2 separate regions of the Homo sapiens genome follow, and region 1 is linked to region 2. The links are contacts of gene promoters, found by promoter capture Hi-C in human tissues and cell types (Jung and others, 2019). All regions are on one chromosome and are shown on one strand. Each heading gives the region's core, a stretch centred on a gene start or on the middle of the fragment in contact. The rest is flanking DNA. Distances are from core to core; before and after follow the strand shown.

What was found. The method cuts DNA at HindIII sites, captures the fragments that hold promoters and counts their contacts. A contact is called where the count stands out against the background at its distance.
Region 1: a contact is called between the fragment with the promoter of NPBWR2 here and the fragment with the promoter of GMEB2 in region 2, in 4 of the 25 tissues and cell types used here (heart left ventricle, lymphoblastoid cells, mesendoderm cells and 1 more).

Annotation. Positions count from the first base shown.
Region 1 is chr20:64,106,265-64,111,539 of GRCh38, reverse strand. It overlaps NPBWR2 (neuropeptides B and W receptor 2), which reads left to right and starts at 3,975. Exons shown (of 2, transcript NM_005286.4): 1 at 3,975-4,176; 2 at 4,618-5,275. The coding sequence starts at 4,709. RefSeq lists a silencer at 1,760-1,943 and an enhancer at 3,927-4,427. The HindIII fragment of the contact is 24,186 bases long and covers 1-5,275 here.
Region 2 is chr20:63,624,504-63,630,120 of GRCh38, reverse strand. It overlaps GMEB2 (glucocorticoid modulatory element binding protein 2), which reads left to right and starts at 3,020. Exons shown (of 10, transcript NM_012384.5): 1 at 3,020-3,165. MHENCR (melanoma highly expressed competing endogenous lncRNA for miR-425 and miR-489) reads right to left here and starts at 2,886. Exons shown (of 2, transcript NR_132417.1): 1 at 2,729-2,886; 2 at 1,297-1,931. RefSeq lists silencers at 2,579-3,028, 3,119-3,658. The HindIII fragment of the contact is 46,766 bases long and covers 1-5,617 here.

The DNA.
Region 1 (5,275 bases), core at 2,726-5,225, 480 kb before region 2:
GGCTGGAGTGCAGTGGCACGATCTCGGCTCACTGCAGTCTTGACCTCCTGGGCTCAAGCGATTCTCCCACCTCAGCCTTTCAAGCAGCTGGGACTATAGGCATGCACCACCATACCCAGCTAATGTTTGTTTTTCTGTTTTTTTTGAGACAGAGTCTCGCTCTGTCCCCCAGGCTGCAGTGCAGTGGCATGATCTCGGCTCAATGCAACCTCCGCCTCCCAGGTCCAAGAAATTTTCCTGCCTCAGCCTCCCGAGTAGCTGGGATTACAGGCACCCACCATGACGCCCGGCTAATTTTTGTATTTTTAGTACAGACGGGGTTTCGCCATGTTGGCCAGGCTGGTCTTGAACTCCTGACCTCAGGTGATCTGCCCACGTCGGCCTCCCAAAGTCCTGGGATTACAGGCGTGAGCCACCGCACCCGGCCTTTTGTATTTTTTTTGTAGAGATGAGGTTTCACCATGTTGCCTTGACTGGTCTCGAACTCCTGGGCTCAAGCAATCTGCCCACCTTGGTCTCCCAAAGTGCTGGGACTACAGGTATGAGCCACCGCCCCCGGCCCTCTCACTGGTCTTAATGGCCTAGGCCTCTTGGGAGGACTTAACCTGCAGGGCCACAGCTACAGTTGAGGCTCATCTTGGAGAGCTGATGGAGGAGAGAGAGCAGGGCAGACAGGCCTGGACTCTGGCCACAGGGCAGAATCCACCCCTCCTACCAGGGCCTGCCTGGCTGGAGATGAGATGGTCAACAAGCACACTGGAGTCTGTATGAATCTCTGGGTCTGTATGCCTGCTACACATATGCATGCCCGTGTGAAGATCCAAGTCGCAGCACGGACTGAGGGACAGGTGTCCCTGCACACAGGGGGACAGGTGGAGGGCAGCTGCCACACCTATGTGAAGCGGCAACAAGCGTGAAGCCAGCACAGCTATGTTGTGTGTTGCTCAGGCTGTCCCAGGGTCCTGGCGCTTCTCCCTGGCCCCTGCCCTAGGGGTCTCCTTCAGGTCCCTGCAAGACCCCCACACGCAGCCCCACAAAATGCTCAGATGCACACTGACTGGCACCCATCACTCCCTCACCCCACACCCCAGACAGAGGATGTGCCATGTCAGTGGCCTTGCTGTCAGGCCCCCACCACCGTTCTGCCCAACAGAGCTGACCACGGCTCCCTCCCTCCCTGGCCTCTCCTCTCTTCACCCAAAGGGCCTCACAGGTTCATTTGAAAAGGCCAATTTATTTCTGAAAATGGAAACCATTTCCACAGAACGATGCTCTCACAAGCTCACAGCTGGCTGGAACAATGCCCAGCCCACGAACAGAGCAAAGGGCCTTTCTGAGCCCTGAGTGCTGGGGGTACAGACGGGGGAGCACCCCCGGCTCAGGCCCTGGTGTTGCAGCGGGCATCGGTGAGGTGCTTCTGGGAGGAGGAAAAGGCCCCTGGGGCTGCTGCTTTTGTGGCCAGGAGGACCTGACACCTCCAGCCGGCCTCCCCGGGGTCCTGAGCTCAGCACCTGGCAGTCTCCCCCATCCCCACTGCCCTCAGGGTCCCCATCCCTTCCATCATGCGCACCCCACCTCCAATGTGACCGGCGGGCGGTGGTGCCAGACCAGCCTTCAGGACAGGCTCAGGAGAGCAGAGCTAGAGTCTGGGAGGGGCTCCGATTCCCAGACTCACCAGATACCGGTGGAGGGAAGAGGACCCAGACTCGTGGTTGGCTTCAGAGGAAGCCAGACACACAGTGGGATCTTTGCATGGGAAGATTCTGTGCTCTGAGGGATGCCTCTGACACTGGGCTCCCCACTACTGAGGCTTAAGGGAAGACCCTCCTGGAACACCCTGCTCTGAAGAAGGTGTGGGTGGCAGTCGGTATCCTGCAGGGCAAAGACCAGCAGGGGTGCCCAGAGCTCAGGCCACACGGGGGTCACTGGGCAGGCTGCCAGCCAGCCCTGGGGGGCAGAGGAAGGCACCGGCACTAGCCTGGGCCCCTCCCAAAATGCATGGAAGGGAGAGGCCCCCAGCAATGCCCCCAGGGAGGCCCAGAGTCAGGCAGTGTGGCCAGCCCCACCCCAGGACAGCAGCTCGGTGACAGCAGGCCCCCAGGGAGGCCCAGAATCAGGCCAGCGTGGCCAGCCCCACCCCAGGACAGCAGCTCGGTGACAGCAGGCCTGGGACATTCTCCCAGTGCCCGGTGCTGAGGCCATGGTCGGCCGCTCCCCAGCCAAGACCAGTGACCGCCTGGCCCAGCCCACACCCTGGTCAATGCCTGGGCCACCACATGCCAGGCCTGGCCTCTCTGTGTCACGCCTCTGGTTTCCAGGAGCTGTGAACTGACCCCTCCCGACCCCACGAACACCCCAAATCACAAAATTCAGCCCCAATGCACCCTCTCCTCACGGCTGCTAATCACCATCCCCTGACCTTGTGGGCGTCAAGCTCCACTTATGTGACAAACTGTGGCTACAAGCCCCACGCTCCCTCGAGACACACCCACAGATCCCCCCCACCGCCATCCCCAAACTGGCTGAAGAGGAGTGTGAGATATCTCAGCAGGGTTCCCTGACCCCGGACTCAACATCCACATGGCACAGCCCATAGAAGGGTAGCTCGGGGCCCACCCACAGTGTACCCTCAGGCTGGCGACATCAGGGTACTCAGGGCGACTGCCCAGGCTCCTGTCCTAACCAATAGACTTGACAGAGCAACTCTCAGGAAAGAAGGCCGACCATGAGTGTGCGGTGACATCCTTGCAACCCCACAGGCAGCGGGCACAGTCTCGATGGGCAGACACATCTCCCCAGACTGAAAACACACAGTGACCAGGCACGGTGGGTCATGGCTATAACCTGAGCACTTTGGGAGGCTGAGGTAGAGGCTGAAGCTCAGGAGATCGAGACCAGCCTGGGCAACATGGTGAAACCCCGTCTCTACAAAAAAAAACACAAAAATTAGCCAGGCATGGTGGCACATGCCTGTAGTCCCAGCTACTTGAGAGGCTGAGGTGGGAGGATCACCTGAGCCCAGGGAGGTCAGGGCTGCAGTGAGCCATGATAGTGCCACTGCACCCCAGCCTGGGTGACAGGGCAAGACCCTGTCTCAAAAAAGAAGAAAGGAAAGAAAACACAGACCCTCTGACCCAACACGTCTCCGCTGAGGAGCGGCTCTGAGACTGGCGACTGCTCGTGTCAGCTGTGGCGTTGCCTGCAAAGCAGGTCCAGATGCGGCCGAGCTGCACACACACGGGTTGGATAAGCCAGGGTGCGTCCAGCAAGGAAGAAAAGCAGGGAGAAGGGAAGGACTTAAAGACCAACCCAGAGCAGAGTGTGATGCTCACCACCTCTGCAGGACGGCGGGAGAGTTACGTGTCAGCGTGAGAACGTCTTCTCTGCAGCCTTTCACAGCTTGCCTAGGCTGAGTTCCTCTTTTAGCAAAAGACAAAAAAAGAAGGTGGGTTGCCTATGGCCAACAAGTTCTGCTTCCACATGAGGGCATACAGACCCCCCAGATGCCCACACTCAGCCAAGGACATGTAGACCCACTCAGATACAACGCAGAGCTCACCCACAGAGACCCCCATACAGGCAGACACAGGCCCACACACGTACATGTCCTAACTGGCACACACACACAGGAACACACCATGTACACACACAGGGTGGGGCAGGAGACCCACCAAGACACCCATGTTCACAGATAAGGGTGCCCAGGCCCACAGTGACTCCCGGACAGAGGCACAGATGCCTTCAGTGCCCTCTGCCCGAAGACCTGGGCACACCCAGAGGCCCCTGCATGGAGTCCCTTCCTGACACACAGGCGCACACGTGCCTCAGCCGCCCACTGAGGAGTCTGCCTGGGTAAGTGAATGCTGAGGAGACCCTGGGACAGCCGACTGCAGGCGCTACTGCAGCTCAGGGGAAGGTGGGGCCTGCCTTCCGGGCTCCACGTCAGCAAGGGGGATCCGCCTCCCTCCCTCACCAGCATCAGCACTGACACCAGGCTGGGAACCTCGCAGCCGGGGCTGAGGCAGCCAGCAGGGCAGGTCTTGAAACTCCTGAAACCTCAGCTGGAGGTCTGTCAGTGAGGACCACACCTCGCCCTCCATCCCTGCGACTGCCTGTACTGGCCAAAACCAGGAACACACCAAGGCTACCAACTTCTGGACTCGAAGCACTGGACAGGTCAGTGGAGAGAAGAGTAGCTGGACCAGCAGGGTCTGCAGCATCTCTCGGGAGGGTGTGAGGGAGGGTGCAGACTCCAAGACCCCTGAGGGAAGGACCTTCAGATTCAAGGGAGCCAGAGATGAGCTTGGGAGGTGTGTTTCCAAAGGGACCGCTTGATTCTACGCAGCCCGTGCATCTGCGGGTTGCTGGGGCAGGGACGGATCCACATCTCTTCCCAGGAGGGTGGCCAGCAGCTGCTCTCTGCGGGAGGAGGGAACTGATCTGCTGAAGTCTCACCAGGAAGAGGCGGGAGGAGGCCCCCACACACCCCACCAGGCTCCCTCTGGCCCCATGTCCTTGACCTGGCAAAGTGGCCGCAGTCTCTGCCAGAGAACCTGGAGTGGCTGTGCCCTAACAGACGGCCGGATCTCAAAGTCTCTGGTTGTTTTTCTTTCCTAGAATCCAGCCCAAGGAGGCCCCCAACCAGATACCCAACTCCAAGGCACCTCCCACCTGCCCAGGGCGCAAATCGTCAACGGTCCCAGCTACAATGCAGGCCGCTGGGCACCCAGAGCCCCTTGACAGCAGGGGCTCCTTCTCCCTCCCCACGATGGGTGCCAACGTCTCTCAGGACAATGGCACTGGCCACAATGCCACCTTCTCCGAGCCACTGCCGTTCCTCTATGTGCTCCTGCCCGCCGTGTACTCCGGGATCTGTGCTGTGGGGCTGACTGGCAACACGGCCGTCATCCTTGTAATCCTAAGGGCGCCCAAGATGAAGACGGTGACCAACGTGTTCATCCTGAACCTGGCCGTCGCCGACGGGCTCTTCACGCTGGTACTGCCCGTCAACATCGCGGAGCACCTGCTGCAGTACTGGCCCTTCGGGGAGCTGCTCTGCAAGCTGGTGCTGGCCGTCGACCACTACAACATCTTCTCCAGCATCTACTTCCTAGCCGTGATGAGCGTGGACCGATACCTGGTGGTGCTGGCCACCGTGAGGTCCCGCCACATGCCCTGGCGCACCTACCGGGGGGCGAAGGTCGCCAGCCTGTGTGTCTGGCTGGGCGTCACGGTCCTGGTTCTGCCCTTCTTCTCTTTCGCTGGCGTCTACAGC
Region 2 (5,617 bases), core at 1,771-4,270:
ACAAAACAAACAAAAACAAAAACAGGCCTGGTGCAGTGGCTCACGTCTGCCCGGAGGCAGAGGTTGCAGTGAGCTGAGATTGCACCATTGCACTCCAACCTGGGCGACAGAGCGAGACTCTGTCTCAAAAAAAACCAAACCAAAAAAATCCCCAAAACAAAAATGATAAATATTTTAGAAGGAAGAATAGCCCCCCCACAGCCCTGCCCAAGATATTCACATCCTAACCCCTGGGATCTGTGAACGTTGGTTCCAAGCAAAGGGGAATTACAGCGACAGATGGAATGAAGGTCACTGGTCGGCGGACTCTGACAGGAGGTGCCCTGGGCCAGCTGGTGGCCCCATGTCATCACAAGGGGCCTTGACAGCAGATGAGGGAGGCAGGAGATCAGTGTCGGGGCCAACAGGGTGAGGACTCAACTGGCTTTGGCTGGCTTTCAGGTGTGGGATAGGCCACGAGACAAGGGGCTCAAGTGCTTCCAGAAACTGGAAAGGCCAGAACAGCTTCTCCCCTGGAGCTCCAAAAGCAATCGGCCCTGCAGACACCCTGATTTTGGCGGAGTGAGGCTGGGCTGGACTTCCGACCTACAGAACAGTTAGAGAATACATTTGCAGTTTTATTTATTTATTTTTTGAGACGGAGTCTTGCTCTGTTGCCTAGGCTGGAGTGCAGTGGCGCCATCTCGGCTCACTGCAAGCTCCGCTTCCTGGGTTCACGCCATTCTCCTGCCTCAGCCTCCCGAGTAGCTGGGACTACAGGCGCCTGCCACCACGCCAGGCTAATTTTTTGTATTTTTAGTAGAGAGGGGGTTTCACAGTGTTAGCCAGGATGGTCTCTATCTCCTGACCTCGTGATCTGCCCGCCTTGGCCTCACAAAGTGCTGGGATTATAGGCGTGAGCCACCGTGCCGGACACATTTGCATTTTTTAAAAAGAGACAGTTCTGGCCATGTTGGTCTCGAACTCCTGGCCTCAAGCAATCCTGCCTTGGCCTCCCAAAGTGCTAGGATTATGGGCGTGAGCCTCCGCACTCAGCCTAAATTTGCATTTTTAAGCGACTAAGTTTGAGATAATTTGTTATGCCAGCAGAAGAAAGCTAAGTTATCTTGGAGGTGATTTTTCTTTTTTTTTAGATGGAGTTTCTCTCTTGTTGCCCAGTTTGTCTCTTGGAGCCCCAGAGTGAAGGAGGCAGAACAGGCCCCAGGGCTCACCCCAGGCCGACCTCGGTGGGCTTGCGCAACACACAGGCATGATGTAGCCACCCTCCCATCCCCAGGCCCCCCTCAGCACTCCTCTTCGACTTTATTGACATTTATTTCCAAAACGTGACGATAGGCAAACTCAGATAAATGACACACATAGACCGCGTGAACCCTCTCATATTTACCAGATAATAAAATAGTAGCACTGACAAAGGCTCAATTTTTTTTTTTATTCTTCCCCAGAGACAGGCTCTGTTGCCCAGGCTGGTCTTGAACTCCTGGCCACAGGTGATCCTCCCACCTTTGTCTCCCAAAGTGTTGAGGTAAAAGGCATGAGCCACCGCACTCGGCCAATCTAATTTTTAAAAACACCTTTTCCTCACTGGCTGGAGCACGTTCTACTTTACTGGGAACTGAATGAATGTGCAACTCTAATTACAGCCCCTCCGAAGTGCAGTGGCTTGGGAACCTCCCGTTCCGGGAGGCGGCCTGCAGAGCCCTCCTCCTACAAGTGTGAGCACAGGGTCAGGGTTCCATCCAAGCGAGCACCTGCTTCCTATTTTCCGACTAATTTCGGTCCCCTGATACGGAATCCGGGATCCTGCAGACAGGCAGCGGGTGACAGCAAGCACAAGGGTGTTCGATGACACCTGGAGAGGTCAGGAGAGCCAGTCCTGCGGTGCAGAGGAAGAAACCCAGCACAGAGGCCAACAGAGCCAGCCCCAGCCTCTGCCAATAAAACATATAAATGAGCCCTGGGGGCTGGAGGAGGGCCACAGGATCCAAGCTGGCTGCCGGATCCGAGTGGGATCGGGGTGCCGACTGTGGGACATGGGTGGGATGGGGTGCCGGCTGCGGGACTCGGGTGGGATCGGGGTGCGGGCTATAGGACTGGGGCGGGATCGGGGTGTCATCTATGGGATCGAGGTGCTGGCTATGGGACTGGGGTGGGATCGGGGTGCTGGCTATGGGACTGGGGTGGGATCGGGGTATCAGCTATGCTATGCGATCGGGGTGAGTGCCGGCTGTGGGATCGGGGTGCCGGCTGCGGGACTGGGGTGGGATCGGGGTGCCGGCTGTGGGACAGCGGTGGGATCGGGGTGGGTGCCAGCTGTTGGGCTGGGGTGGGATCGGGGTGCCAGCTGCGGGACTGGGGTGGGATCGGGGTGCCGGCCGTGGGACAGCGGTGGGACCGGGGTGTTAGCTATGGGATTGGGGTGGGTGCCGGCTGTTGGGCAGGGGTGGGATCGGGGTGTCGGCTGTGGGACTGCGATAGGATCGGGGTGCTGGTTGTGGGACTGGGGTGACAGCTTGAGGGGTGACCGAGCCCTCCCGGCCGCTCCCGGATGCCCCTCGCCCTCCACGCTGGGAGCGCCGTGGCTGGCTGAGCCTCTGGCATGTTCCGCGTGAGTCCGCGCACCCTACAGCGTCCTCCTCCACAGCCTCGTGTTCAGGCGTCCGCCCCGCAGGGGAGTCCCCTCGCGCCCATTCACACACAGCAGCGTCCGGGCGAGGAGCGCCCGTACCTGGAGGCCTGAAGGTACCGCCCTGCCGCGCGTGGGCACTGCTCCCTGGCGCCGTCCGTCCACTGACCATCGTCCCTCGGCCCGGCCGCCCGCGCGGGGCAGGCAACGCCCGACCGGGGGCCTCGGGGACCAGGAGGAACCTGCGGCGTTAGGAGCTGACAGTGTCGGTCCGCGCACGCGCCCCGGGGCCCGTCGGGCCTTATTTCACGGCCCCGCCTTCCTCCTCCGCGAGCGCCAAATAAGTGTCCGGCCCTCCCAGCCCCGTGCGTGCGCGGCCCCGCCGCCTGCGTCACTAGGAAGCGCGCGCCCGCGCCGCCGCCGCCGCCGAATCCCCAACAAGGAGCGAAGCCCGCGGCCGCCGCCGCCGCCCGCCGCCGCCGCAGCTCCCGACGCCGCCGCCCCCGCCGGGTGCCTAAGCAGGCCCGGCGCGGCCCCAGGTAAGCGGCGCCGGCGAGCCCGCGGCCCCCCCGCGGCGAGGCCTCTCGCTCCGCTCACGCGCCGCCGTCCAGTCAGGGGTCCCTGCGGAGCGTCAGGACGTTACGGCGGGGGGAGGGGAGGGCCGGGGGAGGGGCGGCCGCGCGGGCGGCGGCGTCAGGCGCAACGGCGGCGTCAGGCGGGCGGCGCGGGCGGTGGCGGGCGCGGGCGGCGGCGCTTCCTGCCTCCATCTTGGCGCCGCGGGCGGGCGCGGGCTCGGCCTCCAGCGGCCTCCTCGGTGGACCCATCCCGGGGGGACCACGCCGCAGGGGTGCGACCCGCAGGGACCACCCCGCAGGCACCCGACCCGCAGGGACGCGACCCACAGGGACCACCCCGCAGGCACCCGACCCGCAGGGGCCACCACGCGACCCGCAGGGGCCACCCCACAGGGACGCGACCCACAGGGACCACCCCACAGGGACGCGACCCACAAGGACCACCCCGCAGGCACCCGACCCGCAGGGACGCGATCCCCAGGGGCCACCCCGCAGGCACCCGACCCGCAGGGACGCGATCCCCAGGGGCCACCCCGCAGGCACCCGACCCGCAGGGACGCGATTCCCAGGGGCCACCCCGCAGGCACCCGACCCGCAGGGACGCGACCCATAGGGACCACCCCGCAGGCACCCGACCCGCAGGGGCCACCCGGCAGGCACCCAACTCGCAGGGACGCGACCCGCAGGGATCACCCCACTGGGACCCACTCTCAGGGACCTGACCTGCAGGGACCACCCCACAGGGGCCCGCGTCACTGTAGGCTCACAGGCGGGACCTGGATCTGTGTAGACCCATGGTGGTGTGGACCCTGTTGGTCGGAGCTGATTTGTTGTGGGCCCGTCGTCAGTCATGGCATGTTATCTATTTGGTTACTGTGTAATTCATGCGTGACTGAAAAGTCGTGACTGACTTTTCTGTTGAACCAGAATTCTCTTTCTTTGCTAACACTTCAAATACAACAGTTTCAATTACATCAGTGTTGACCGTGCCGGTCAAGAATACTAGTTTAAAAATATTTTCTTGGGCCAGGTGTGATGGCTCACACCTGTAATCCCACCACTTTGGGAGCCCGACGTGGGCGGATCATGAGGTCAGGAGTTTGAGAGCAGCCTGGCTAACACGGTGAAACCCTGTCTCTACTAAAAATACAAAAGTTAGCCGGGCGTGGTGGTGTGCACTTGTAATCCCAGCTAGTTGGGAGGCTGAGGCAGGAGAATTGCTTGAACCCAGAAGGCAGAGGTTGCAGTGAGTGGAGATGGTGCCATTGCACTCCAGCCTGGGTGACGGAGCAAGATTGCGTCTCAAAAAAAAAAAAGTAAAATAAAATATTTTCTCATATCTGATTTACCTAATAATTTGGAAACTCACTTCACACTAGTGGGGAACCCAAGCCTTGGGATCAAAGCTGGGTGGGTCTTGGCTTCAACACAGAAGGGGCTGTGGAGAGGCCAGGTGTAGTGGCTCACACCTATAATCCCAGCACTATGGGAGGTCAAGGTGGGAGGATCACTGGAGGTCAGGAGTTCGAGACCAGCCTGGCCAACATGATGAAACCCCGTCTCTACCAAAAATGCAAAAATTAGCTAGGCGTGTTGGGTGCCTGTAGTCCCAGCTACTCGGGAGGCTGAGGCAGGAGAATCACTTCAACCCGGGAGGCGGAGGTTGCAGTGAGCCAAGATTTTGCCATTGCACTCCAGCCTGGGTGACAGAGCGAGACTCCATCTCAAAAAAACAAAGAAGGAGCTGTGGAGAGAGGAGGGGGTGCTCGCCCTTGGGAAGGCAATAGGGCGAGGTGCTCTATTCTATAGTGCTTCTTCTGTGTCTAAAGAGCATTGTATCAAGGACTTGCACTATTTTCTGTGAGGTAACTTTTGTGCATATTGCTTTGAACCTTTAATATAGTTGCCATTGGAGGCCAGGCTCAGTGGCTCACGCCTGTAATCCCAGCACTTTGGGAGGCAGAGGCGGGCGGATCACGAGGTCAGGAGATCGAGACTGTCCTGGCCAACATGGTGAAACCCCGTCTCTACTAAAAATACAAAAATTAGCCGGGCGTGGTGGTGGGCGCCTGTAATCCCAGCTACTCAGGAGGCTGAGGCAAGAGAATCGCTTGAACCCGGGAGGCAGAGCTTGCATTGAGCCGAGATCGGGCCACTGCAGTCCAACCTGGGCTACAGAGCGAGACTCCGTCTCAAAAAAAGAATATATGTATGTATGCAGTTGCCAATGGAGAGGCTGGAATTCAGTTTTGTGCGTGTACATTGCGTAATCCTCTGCAAAGCCCTGAAGCTGTGACGAGGACCCCTGCCTGCAGTGAGGCTGTTGCCTCTTTGCAGCTCTCTGCTTAAATGACTTTAGTTGCCCCTGCTGAGCTTACCCTTATGAAAGCAGCGTCTCCTCAGTGAGAGTTAAACC